Linked DNA regions of Homo sapiens: regions 1, 3 and 4 are each linked to region 2. The links are contacts of gene promoters, found by promoter capture Hi-C in blood cells and fetal thymus (Javierre and others, 2016). All regions are on one chromosome and are shown on one strand. The core of a region is centred on a gene start or on the middle of the fragment in contact, and the rest is flanking DNA. Distances in the headings are between cores, read along the strand shown.

What was found. The method cuts DNA at HindIII sites, captures the fragments that hold promoters and counts their contacts. A CHiCAGO score of 5 or more calls a contact.
Region 1: a fragment that was not itself captured here is called in contact with the fragment with the promoter of ETS1-AS1 in region 2 in 8 of 17 cell types (neutrophils, total CD8 T cells, total B cells and 5 more); the score reaches 10.8 in neutrophils.
Region 3: a fragment that was not itself captured here is called in contact with the fragment with the promoter of ETS1-AS1 in region 2 in 11 of 17 cell types (total CD4 T cells, activated CD4 T cells, total B cells and 8 more); the score reaches 18.1 in total CD4 T cells.
Region 4: a contact is called between a fragment that was not itself captured here and the fragment with the promoter of ETS1-AS1 in region 2, in 2 of 17 cell types (naive B cells and total B cells). The highest score is 5.8, in naive B cells.

Annotation. Positions count from the first base shown.
Region 1 is chr11:128,795,462-128,798,161 of GRCh38, forward strand. The region is part of intron 5 of FLI1 (Fli-1 proto-oncogene, ETS transcription factor); the gene reads left to right. Among named protein-coding and RNA genes, the nearest start is that of KCNJ1, 70 kb to the right of the region's middle. The HindIII fragment of the contact is 4,733 bases long and covers 1-2,700 here.
Region 2 is chr11:128,524,824-128,527,523 of GRCh38, forward strand. ETS1-AS1 (ETS1 antisense RNA 1) reads left to right here and starts at 1,319. Exons shown (of 4, transcript NR_120581.1): 1 at 1,319-1,492; 2 at 1,710-2,595. The region is part of intron 3 of ETS1 (ETS proto-oncogene 1, transcription factor); the gene reads right to left. The HindIII fragment of the contact is 5,425 bases long and covers 918-2,700 here.
Region 3 is chr11:128,263,845-128,266,544 of GRCh38, forward strand. No RefSeq gene overlaps it. Among named protein-coding and RNA genes, the nearest start is that of LINC02098, 56 kb to the left of the region's middle. The HindIII fragment of the contact is 4,564 bases long and covers 1-2,700 here.
Region 4 is chr11:128,241,576-128,244,275 of GRCh38, forward strand. No RefSeq gene overlaps it. Among named protein-coding and RNA genes, the nearest start is that of LINC02098, 34 kb to the left of the region's middle. The HindIII fragment of the contact is 9,586 bases long and covers 1-2,700 here.

The DNA of each region.
Region 1 (2,700 bases), core at 141-2,640, 270 kb after region 2:
TGACACAAGAAAAATTAACTTCTTATGTCCCATGAACTAAACTCTGAAAAAGAGTATCAGCTAGAGTTCTGTAGGATGCGTTAGAATATAGAAAGCAATTTTTTTTTTTTTTTTTTGAGACAGAGTCTTGCCCTCTCGCCCAGGCTGGAGTTCAGTGACGCTCACTGCAAGCTCCGCCTCCCGGGTTCACACCATTCTCCTGCCTCAGCCTCCCGAGTAGCTGGGACTACAGGCACCCACCACCACGCCCAACTAATTTTTTGTATTTTTAGTAGAGACATGGTTTCACCATGTTAGTCAGGATGGTCTTGATCTCCTCACCTCGTGATCTGCCTGCCTCTGCCTCCCAAAGTGCTGGGATTACAGGCGTGAGCCACTGCGCCCAGCCCTAGAAAGCATTTTCATATGCATGGTGTCATTTATTCTCAAAAGATCCCTGTGAGGATCCAGTGTGCTATTTGCTTTTCCAAACTCTTAAATTTAGGAATAATCACACCACTCTCTCCCGCCCCTGCCAAGTATCTACCTTTTACAGAGAGGTTCAATAAGAGGTTCAGAGAGGTTAAGTCATTTGCCTCAGACCACACAGCTCATAACTGACAGAGATGAGAGGCAAAGCAAGGAGTTCTGACCCCCCAGCCCAGAGTTCTTTCCTTTGCAATGAGCCATTTCCCTGTTTGGAATGGATTCACGAGAAATTATGGAATTTCTTCCCATGAAGATCTTTAAGAGCCCTTAGTAACACCACCAACAGTCCTATGCTTGATAAATTTTAGGTATCACTCTTCCAAAGAGATGAAAATCATTCTTGGTATCATTTTGAAAAATCTTTGAGCTTAAGAAGTCTTCGGCCTTTTGGGCCTGTCTGCAAAATAATTATCAGCCCTGCCCAATACACTAGAGGAGGTTAGAGAGAGGCAGTTTTTTGCTATGAGTCATAATTTCAATTTCTATTAAAATTCTTACATGGCCACATATGCTACCTCTCAGGCTTTGGGCCTCTGGGCCTGTGCTAATTTGCATGTCTGGTTTAGATAATGTCTGAGGTCCTTCCAGTCTAAAAAGGAGCCTCTGATGCTGTGATATAATAAGTGAGATCACATTCCACCTACCAAGACTTGATGGTTCTTTTTCTTTTAACTACTGTGCTCTGTCTGATGTGTGGATGCACAGCTCAGGGACGGAAGTGTTTCCTGCTCACCTGCCAGGCCACAAAAGAAGGAGTGCTCTTGGCCGGGCGTGGTGGCTCACGCCTGTAATCCCAGCACTTTGGGAGGCTGAGGTGAGTGGATCACCTGAGGTCAGGAGTTCAAGACAAGCCTGGCCAACATGGTGAAACCCCGTCTCTACTAAAAATATAAAAATCAGCCAGGCATGGTGGCAGGCGCCTATAATACCAGCTACTCAGGAGGCTGAGGCAGAAGAATTGCTTGAATCCGGGAGACGGAAGTTGCAGTGAGCCGAGATTGCGCCATTGCACTCCAGCCTGGGGGACAAGAGCAAGACTTCGTCTCAAAACAAAACAAACAAACAAACAAAAAGAAGTAGTGCTCCTTCAGCATGAACTCACCTGTCCACTTCTGCTACACTGAACCCAGAGACTTGTCCTTTCCTGCAAAGCATTTCAGACATAGGTCAAAAGGCAAATCATGGGAATTGTTGGGATTTTACGTTTCTTGATTTGAATGGCCGTTCTAATTCAACGTGAATCCAAGACCACAGACTTGACAATCACCTGATTCAAAATATGTGAAAAGTACTTGAGTCTTTAAAATATGGGGTTCATCTCACCTTTTACTATTCCTCTCCCAAACATCAAAGAGATGCTGTCAAGTTTCTTAGCTAACTTTGCTATCCTACAACATAAAGCAACTCTCATGCATAAAAAACTAATTAAAAGGAATTGGCTTTCCAGAGGGACTTTGAGACCAATGTCAGCCAATCTGTCACTTTTCAAAATAAAATTATGGAACTATGTAGAGCTCTATTTTCATAATGTTAGATCAAGTCTTTGCTCAAATTCTATATTTTCAGAGAAGACCTCCCATCCCTGCACTGCCTACTTCCCTCCTCTGGTTTTCTCTTCTTCATAGCATTCATCGCCTTCTAATATACAATGTAATTTACTACTTGTCTTGAATGTCAGCTCCACAGAGGAAGGACGTTTGTCTAGCGATTGTTGTGTTCTCAGCATGTAAAGTGTCTGGCAAGGTAGTAGACATTCAGTAAAACATTGTTGAATGAATAAATGTGTGGTGGGACATAAGGCATCAATTAAATCCAATAAGTTGGTGATGGCGAGGGGCAAGAATGAATTTTTGAGAGAAACAAAGGTGCTTAAGATACAACCCCTCTTCCTAAAGATGATCACCTAGCGAGGGACACAAGCGTACAAAGAATTACACTCAAAGGCTAAGCAGGACACGGGCAGTAGACACAAGACAACTCACCAGTGAGCCTTGACCTGCAGAACTTTGAAAGCAAAGGACACAGAAGCTGAATGTTACGCAGACCCAAGAGTGTATCCCCTATGGCCAAGGAGAAGAAGGGCAACCTCGCTGTGAACATTGCAACCTATGAGGGTCGGAGCAGGGCAGAGGGCGTTGCGTATAAACTGCCTCTCATTTATCCTCAAGCCTGATTACCTAAGTGAACTGTTATGTTTTCTTCTTTCTACCTGGAATCCTCTTAAACCAGAGG
Region 2 (2,700 bases), core at 69-2,568:
GCTTGTGAAGATGAACTAAAAAGTGTCAGAGGCTGTGCCCTTTTCCCTTCATAGTAGAGCAGAACCTCTATCCCCAGCACTCACGTCCACTCGGTTACATGTATGCCTCAGTGTCCCCACCAGCCAAACAACAGCAGCCAAGCGTTGCCTTTCATCCACTTGGGCAAGATACTTCAATACCATATCTGGTTTTTAAGGCACTCAGGAAAAAAAAAAATCAATCAAATAAATACTTCTGTGCTTGTGCTTGTACTGCAGCAGTCTGTTCCTCCTGCATTTGGGAAAAAACAGAATTGTATTTTTAAGCATTCCTTAGACTTCGGCTAATTATATCCTACCAAGTGCTGAATTGCCTTACACTAGGAACGTGAAGTCAATAAGGGCCAAGAAAAGTCCGCAGGAGTTGGGGAACAGAAGAGTGGAGCTAGACAATAATATTAAGAAAATAGTCACCTTCATACAGGAATTCCTCAAGCACATGGAGTATGTAAAAAGCATACTTTCTTTTTTATTTATACTCCTCCCTCAACTCCACCCCAACTTCAATAAAAAAGAAATATAAATATACACTTAATGTTGAACAATCATGGAAGACAGACTTTCCCTCTCCAGAAGTGTCCTAGCATGTTATCTACTCCTGAGTCTTGAACTTCAACAAAACAAAGAATCTCTGAGTTTTGAGCTAAAATATGCTTTACTGAAGGTAGGTACAAAAACATTCAGACCACTAACGGCTGATCCAGAACCAGTTTATGACTCACAGATGTTGATTTACTGGTATAAATGTAAGATTTAGAAAAAAAAAAAAAAAAAAAAAAGCCCTCAATTAACAACAACCTGTCTGAGCTGCATTTGTGGTCTCATTTTTCTCTGAGAAAAGGCAACAGTCTCTGTCATACACAGAAACAAGCTTTGAAAGCTTACTTCTAAGGCAAGTGGTTTCTATGTGAGAAGTTTAGTCATTAAAAGTCACACTAGGGAAGAAAAATGCCTGGCACTTCAATATCTACATTATCAAGCAGCAATAAAATGGAAAATTAGAGATAGGAAGGAAAATTAAAATAACTCTCTTAATTAAACTTGGATGCCAAAAAGCCTTAGGGTCAGTTAAGGGACCCAAGCCAGGGGACTCAGATGGTACTGTTGCTGACTGCAGGCTGGCTCTGTGACCTCACCAAAGCCACTTAACCTTTTTGTGTCACAACCTCATCTCTGTTTCAGGGAATAAAATCAGCCCTAGCTCTCCCTAGAATGGAACACAGACTCATTGGCTATTGTTTAGAAGGCACAATAAACAATGAGGGTAGGAGGAGCTGCAGTCAGGAGGGAAGAAGGGAGGGTGGGGTGGGGTTGGGGGAGAGGGGAGGACTTGGGAGCCTGTTTGCCCTGGAAAGCTCAATATAAGAAAACAAAGAGGATAGTAGTGTGGGCTTTGGAATAAGACTCAGGTTCAAATTCTTACTCTACCAACTAGCCAGCTGAATTGCCACAGGTAAGTCATTTAAACAATCCCGAACCTCAGTTCCTCCATGTTTCAACTAGGGATAATAGCAGCACACACCTTTTAAGGCTATTTGAATGATTAAATGAGATAATGTATGCAAAGAATTTAGCACAGTGTCTAGGTGAGAATTAGTATTTGATTATTGTTATTAAGATCTAGTATACGGTAGAATATGTGGGAAATCACATTAAATGTCTGTCTACAGCCATCTCTTTGCAGAATAGCTTGGATGCTCAATTTTCCTGAACGATCTCCAGCGAGAGATAGAACAACTATCACCACATTTCATTTAAAAATCTCTTCAAGACCCTTCCTCAGTTCTTAAACTGGCAACCTGCCCAGCATCAGCCTCACTTGAGAAATTCGAGAACTACCTGATTGGAGAAGAGAACTAGATTTATATTTGTTTTGAGTCACAGAAAAGTGACAGTTTAAATTCTGAAAGAAGATCACATTTGTAGTGCCTCTTTGGAGACAAAACCTTAGGTCTTGGATTTGTCACATGTTAGAGCTCAATGGGAGTTTATCAGTGCTCTCCAAGTCCAGCACTCCTATTTACCAGAGGTGAAAAATGAGTGTGAGTGAGGAAATTATTATTTCCAGGGCCACACAATCTAAAAAAGTCAGTGTCAGTACTAGAACCAGATGCCCTGATAGCAGTTCTCTCCCTGGCATCTCCTTGCATTTACTTTGCATTTCACTTTGGCAGGAGAAGTACCAGACACCCTTGAGACACAAGACAGGATACAATGGACATGGGAGTAGATAGATGAGCAGACTCAATTTCTAGAAATCCAACTTCTCTACACTGGATGTATTGTCTTTGGGCAAATACATTGCAGGATAACCACACTATGGTTCCCTGTGGGAGACAGCTTGGCATGGGCTGTCAGGAGAGAAAGGGCCTGGGTTGGCTCTATTGCTGTCTGCAGTTTCTTTAGACTATAATTATGAACCATTCAACTGCATCTGCAGCCCCAACAATGTGGGGTGGATTGGCCTAATCCACAGACCAAGCGACATTTTAAAATCCAGCAGTTTAGACACGTATTCCTCTTGCAGCAAATCAAACATGGCTCAGACAGGAAGAGGTAAGGAGCTGCCCAAGGTTAGAGGGTTCTGAGGTCTCATCCACACTCAGTGTTGTGTGCTTCCCTGAAGCAGGCTGAGCATGTTGCCTGGAATTGCTGCAAATG
Region 3 (2,700 bases), core at 83-2,582, 260 kb before region 2:
ATAATCCAATTTTGAATATGAATATAGATGCAACACACATACAAATGCTAATGTGTGCATGTGTAGGCAGGTAGATAGATGGATAGACAGATGAATAATAGGAAAATAGATATAAGAATGTCATATATGCAGGAAGATTGTCTTCCCCTTTGCCTTCTATCCAAGATTAAAAATGTATTGTATATATTTTATGTTTATAGATTTTTTAATTTAAATTATAAACCAACCAGAATTTCCTTTATGTATAGCATTTAATATCAAAACCTAAGGATATATTCTTCTAAGTTTATTTCCAATATCTCCAACATTATTTAATATATTTCCCAGTGATTTTGAGACATATTTATCACATATTAATTTCTCATGTACTTTCAGATTTCTTTTTAGACTCTATTCTCTAACACTAATTTATTTGCCCCTTCCAGTGCCAAAATGTTTGCTTTACAGCTTGTACTGACCCACATTTACACTCTCATCTGACCTTTAGAATTAATTTGCATGATTAGTGCCAATATCTATTCCCCAGGGTGAAAAGTAATTGCCTTCTTGTTATAATTGCTATACAAGTTTGGAAAAAAAAAAAAACAGAAAAAAATAGCGATTGAAGCATCAACATGTATAAGGATGTTTAATCTCAGAGGCAGTATCAAGGCAGAGACTCATAGATCATCCCAACCCCAATGTATTTATACCTATAGCAAAATGCACATTTTTTGGCATTGAAGCTGAATGAATTTGCATTAAAAACATAAGTCTGCCATTGAATATGAAACATACTTGATTTCTCTGAGGCTCAATTTTTTCCTCTGTAAAATCAGAAAGATAATACCTTTCAGGATTGGTGTTTAAATGTGCTGTGTATCTAGCATAGCAGGTGCTCAACAGAAGTTAACTCCTTTATCCCTTCTAATCGTCAATTCTCAGTCACTTGTCCAGCTGTGTTTATTCAATTATATAACTTAGCATTATTATGAGAAGATTGCAGTTGATTTTATAGTGTTGAAATTGATATAACAGGAATAGGAATGTGGAAAGAAGGTCACACGCAAAGCACATCCTTGCTTTAAGGAGCTTACAGTCAAGTGGGTGAACAAAAATACTTCTTGCATGTTTTAAATAAAATAATCAAGAGTGATTTTATGGAATTTCTAAATATGTTTCTAGAGTTACACGTTAATAATACTTCTCCTTCTCTTAGATAACTTTAGTGGGGAAAAAAGAACAATAGGGTTTCCTCTAAAAGGACCTTCCCATGAGCCTCCATAGTTACAGTCAAGAGAAAGTCAATGAACAGATTTGTAGTTTCTCATACTTGGAACATAAGTTTTTGAACAGAAGATGAGAAAAATGAAAATAAAAGTGTATTAGTTAGCTATTGCTGTTATATAGTTCCATGATAAGCCATCTCACAACTCCCTTCAAATAAAGTAGTTTCTGTATGGATCCGTAATCCAGCAGCTAAAGCCACATACATTCCAAATTCATCATTCTGAGTTTCAAGACAAACCTGGATACTTCTATCTCTCGACAATGGCCTCAGTGGCCAAGGCACTGACTATATTTGCCTTGCCCCCAAAATGCATCTTTGCTCTACCTTCACATGGGTGGAACTGTCTTCCTCATGAGATAAAGCAAATAAGAGGCATTTGGGGGAGACCTGAAGACTCAGAAATCTCAATATTATTTCCACCTTGGGTTTATTTTTCTGCCTTTGGGGCATAGAATTTACATTCATCTAGCCTGCAGGTCTTCAAATTACTATACTCTTAATAAATTTATATTGTAGTTGACAGGCAGAAAGAGCCTCTTTTAGAAAGTCATATTTTCTTTCTTTTATGCATTCAGATATCCCAGAAGCCCACAATTCTGCAAAATGTAGCCAGCACTCTCCAATACAGTTTTACTTTTTACTAAATAACCAATACTACAGCCTTGGACAGCAAAGTTTAAATGCCAAGAAACAATAGTTCACAGTTTAACTAGTTGCTTTGATTCTGTATAACAAGAATTGTATACTTTCCAGACTAGGATACAAGGTTTCCTATTGCTTTCAATCCTACCTCTTTGACTAGATCCATTTCACACTTCTCTGTTAATTATAATGCCCCACTCCTGGCACAAAATTCTGAAACTGTTATTCTTCTTTTGGTTGCACATGTTGGAAAAGCCAACTAACGGTGGCTTATACACAAAACTAATTTATTATTCATGTAAGTATATTTCCAAAGATAATACTGGCTTAAAGTATAGCTTGATTCAGCACTTAATGAGGACCTGACTTTTTTCTGCCTTCAGCATTATTGGCTTTATCCTAAGACTGGCTTTTCTGGAGGTCTTATAATGACTGCCAATAGGTGCTGGAGCTGCATTTTTTTGTTGCTCAGCTCTGCATAAAAGTGAGCCTTTGCCAATCATTACCAGCAAATATCCAGAGATTCACTTTCTTTAAACAACTTAAATTACATCTCTACCTTGTTACCTACTCTGTGTGCAGGGAATAGATTGTATTGCTTGGCTTATCCCAGGTCATAGGGTGCGTCTGTGGATCTGGAGGTATGGTTGAATTACCCAGAACCAAATGGATTTCTAAACAGTGACTGGAAGCTCTGGTAATGGGAAAGTAAGGAATGGTTGCTAAGGAGGTATGCAACAAATTTCCACTACATTTAAATAGTGCCTTTCTCCTTATTGGATAAAGAT
Region 4 (2,700 bases), core at 36-2,535, 280 kb before region 2:
GAGAATTCAAAGTTTTCACTGATGTGAATATTAGTTAACAGGAAAAAAGAACTCATAAAAACTGTTCCATACTTGTTTTACCCCAAAATGTTAATCCATGCTGTTATAGATACCCTGTGAGACACACAAATGCTTTTCCAACTCATTGATTTCAAATCAAAGGGCAAAATATACATTAGTAATGATGATATGCCAAAACGCTCCTTAATGTGAACATCAGTATTTACGTTTTAATGTCAGTTACAAAGATCCCTGGGCGGGCGCGGTGGCTCACACCTGTAATTCCAGCACTTTCGAAGGCCGAGGCTGGTGGATCATGAGGTCAGGAGATCGAGACCATCCTGGCTAACACAGTGAAACCCCGTCTCTACTAAAAATACAAAAAATTAGCCGGGCTTGGTCGTGGGTGCCTGTAGTCTCAGCTACTTGGGAGGCTGAGACAGGAGAATGGTGTGAACCCGGGAGGCGGAGCTTGCAGTGAGCTGAGACAGCGCCACTGCACTCCAGCCTGGGCAACAGAGCGAGACTCCGTCTCAAAAAAAAAAAAAAAAAAAAAAAAAAAAAAATCCCTAAGCAGAGATTTGGGATCCTTTATATTCATGAATCTTTAATTCAGGAGTTCAAGATACCACAAACCGGCCGAGTGTGGTGGCTCATGCCGGTAATCCCAGCACTTTGGAAGGCCAATGCAGGTGGATCACTAGAGCCCTGGAGTTAGCCTGGGCAACATGGGGAAACCCCCCGTCCCTACAAAAAACTACAAAAGTTAGCCAGGCGTGATGGCATACGCCTGTAGTCCCGGCTACTCAGGAGGCTGGGAGGACGGCTTGAGTCCAGAAGGTGGAGGTTATAGTAAGCCGTGAACATGCCACTGCACTCCAGCACGTGCAACAGAGCAAGACCCTCTCCTCTTCCTCTCTCACAAAAAAAAAAAAAGAAATCACAGAACTATATTACTGCATATTTGTTTGTGTACAATTTACTTTTAATGTGACAACTTCTAGTTTCCCAATAAACTGAAATCCTACACTGAAAAAATAAATCCAGTAACTCACAATTATGTGTTTTGGCTGGCCAAGCATGTTTATCATTTTAAAATAAAATACAGTGTTGCAAAAACAGTTGTAGTAGCTTGGCAATTGTGTTTCAGTACTGTAATGCATGGGTATCAGAAGAGATTGGGCAGATTTCAGCACATTAAGTTACATTTTATTATAGTTCATTACATTTAAGAAAAAATTAACTGAAAATGCCATTTTTCTTGTTATCAGCATGGAAAGGCCTCAGTATAATAAGTACCATGAATTGATTTATTGAGCACTTACCATGTGCCAGTCAATTGACACTGTTGTCACGTAGTCTTTTAACATGCCTGTGGAGTAGACAGATTATTTTTATTTACATTTATAGATGAAAGTGAGTTTTGGAGAGGTAAGGTAACTGTACTCAAGTTAAAAAAGAAGAAAAAAGGTAGTAAGTATAGTAAGTAGAGGTTCTGAGAATGAAACCCAGCTGCATATGATTCCTTAGACTATGATAACTTCTCTGCTATTGTCATTTGCACAAGCTGGCTAAAAATAAACAAATAAAAGGAGCAAAACTAAAACAAAGAGATCCCATGCACACAAGATGTGCACATAGACTCCTATACCTAAGGAATCATCATACACTAAAAGCTCATATGTTTCCAGGTATTTTTCCTGAAGAGTTGATGGAAATGTATCCTTTGAAGGGTATAATGTGCCACCAATCCTTACCATTCTCCTCCCTCCCATTGCTCTAGTGTCTTGTGTTTTGAGGTGAGTATCCTGAACCAGACCTCTGAGTAGCTGAGTCTGTAGGTAAAACACACATTCATATCATGGACCCTAAGGAGGCTGTGTGCAAATGTACCCTTTCATTTACACGCTAGATCAAAGGCTGTAAACATCATTCCTGAAGACGCATGTGATCATCTTAGCAATGCTGACGTGTACAAATGTGGATGAAGATCAAATTTGCTTAGAGTTGTCTTTCTTTAGCTATTTCTCTTTTAAAACCTATGCTTGGAGTTTTAAAAGAGTTCAAAGCAAAAGTTAAACAATTTTATACCAGCTCTCATCCAAGATAAGACCAGTAGCATCACCAACACAATCAAAATGGTCCCAAGCAATGTTCCATTTGAGAATTCTTTTACCACAAACTTTTAACCCTCATGTACTTCAGAGGAAAACATTTTGTTTATGCTTATTTCAGCAAACGTTACTGAGTAAAACTGATGGGCTCTTTAAGTTGTTTCACAAGGTTTGATTTTAAATCAAGATGCTATAAATTAAGAAGGCTTTTAAAAATTCAACTTTCTAAAGATGTCAAATTTTACTGGGTATGTTTAAAATCAAAGGAAATGTTCTAAATAATATTTCAACTTGCAAAAGATGTTCAACTAAAAACCTGATGGAAAATAGCCAAGCATGGACAGCTTTACAGTAGAGGGGAGATGAGGCAGGGCTTGTCAGGACTAAATGAGCTATGAAAATCATTCCAATGTGGGTTCCAATAATGGCTGCACAATTGCCTTCTATGAGACCTCTGCTCTTCATTGACTCAGAGGTCAACTTTTAAGAATGTATAGAAGATTAAATTGAGATAAGATATGTAAAATGCCTGGCACATCGATCACATGGATGTATAAATTAAATGTACTACTATGACCAATTAGAG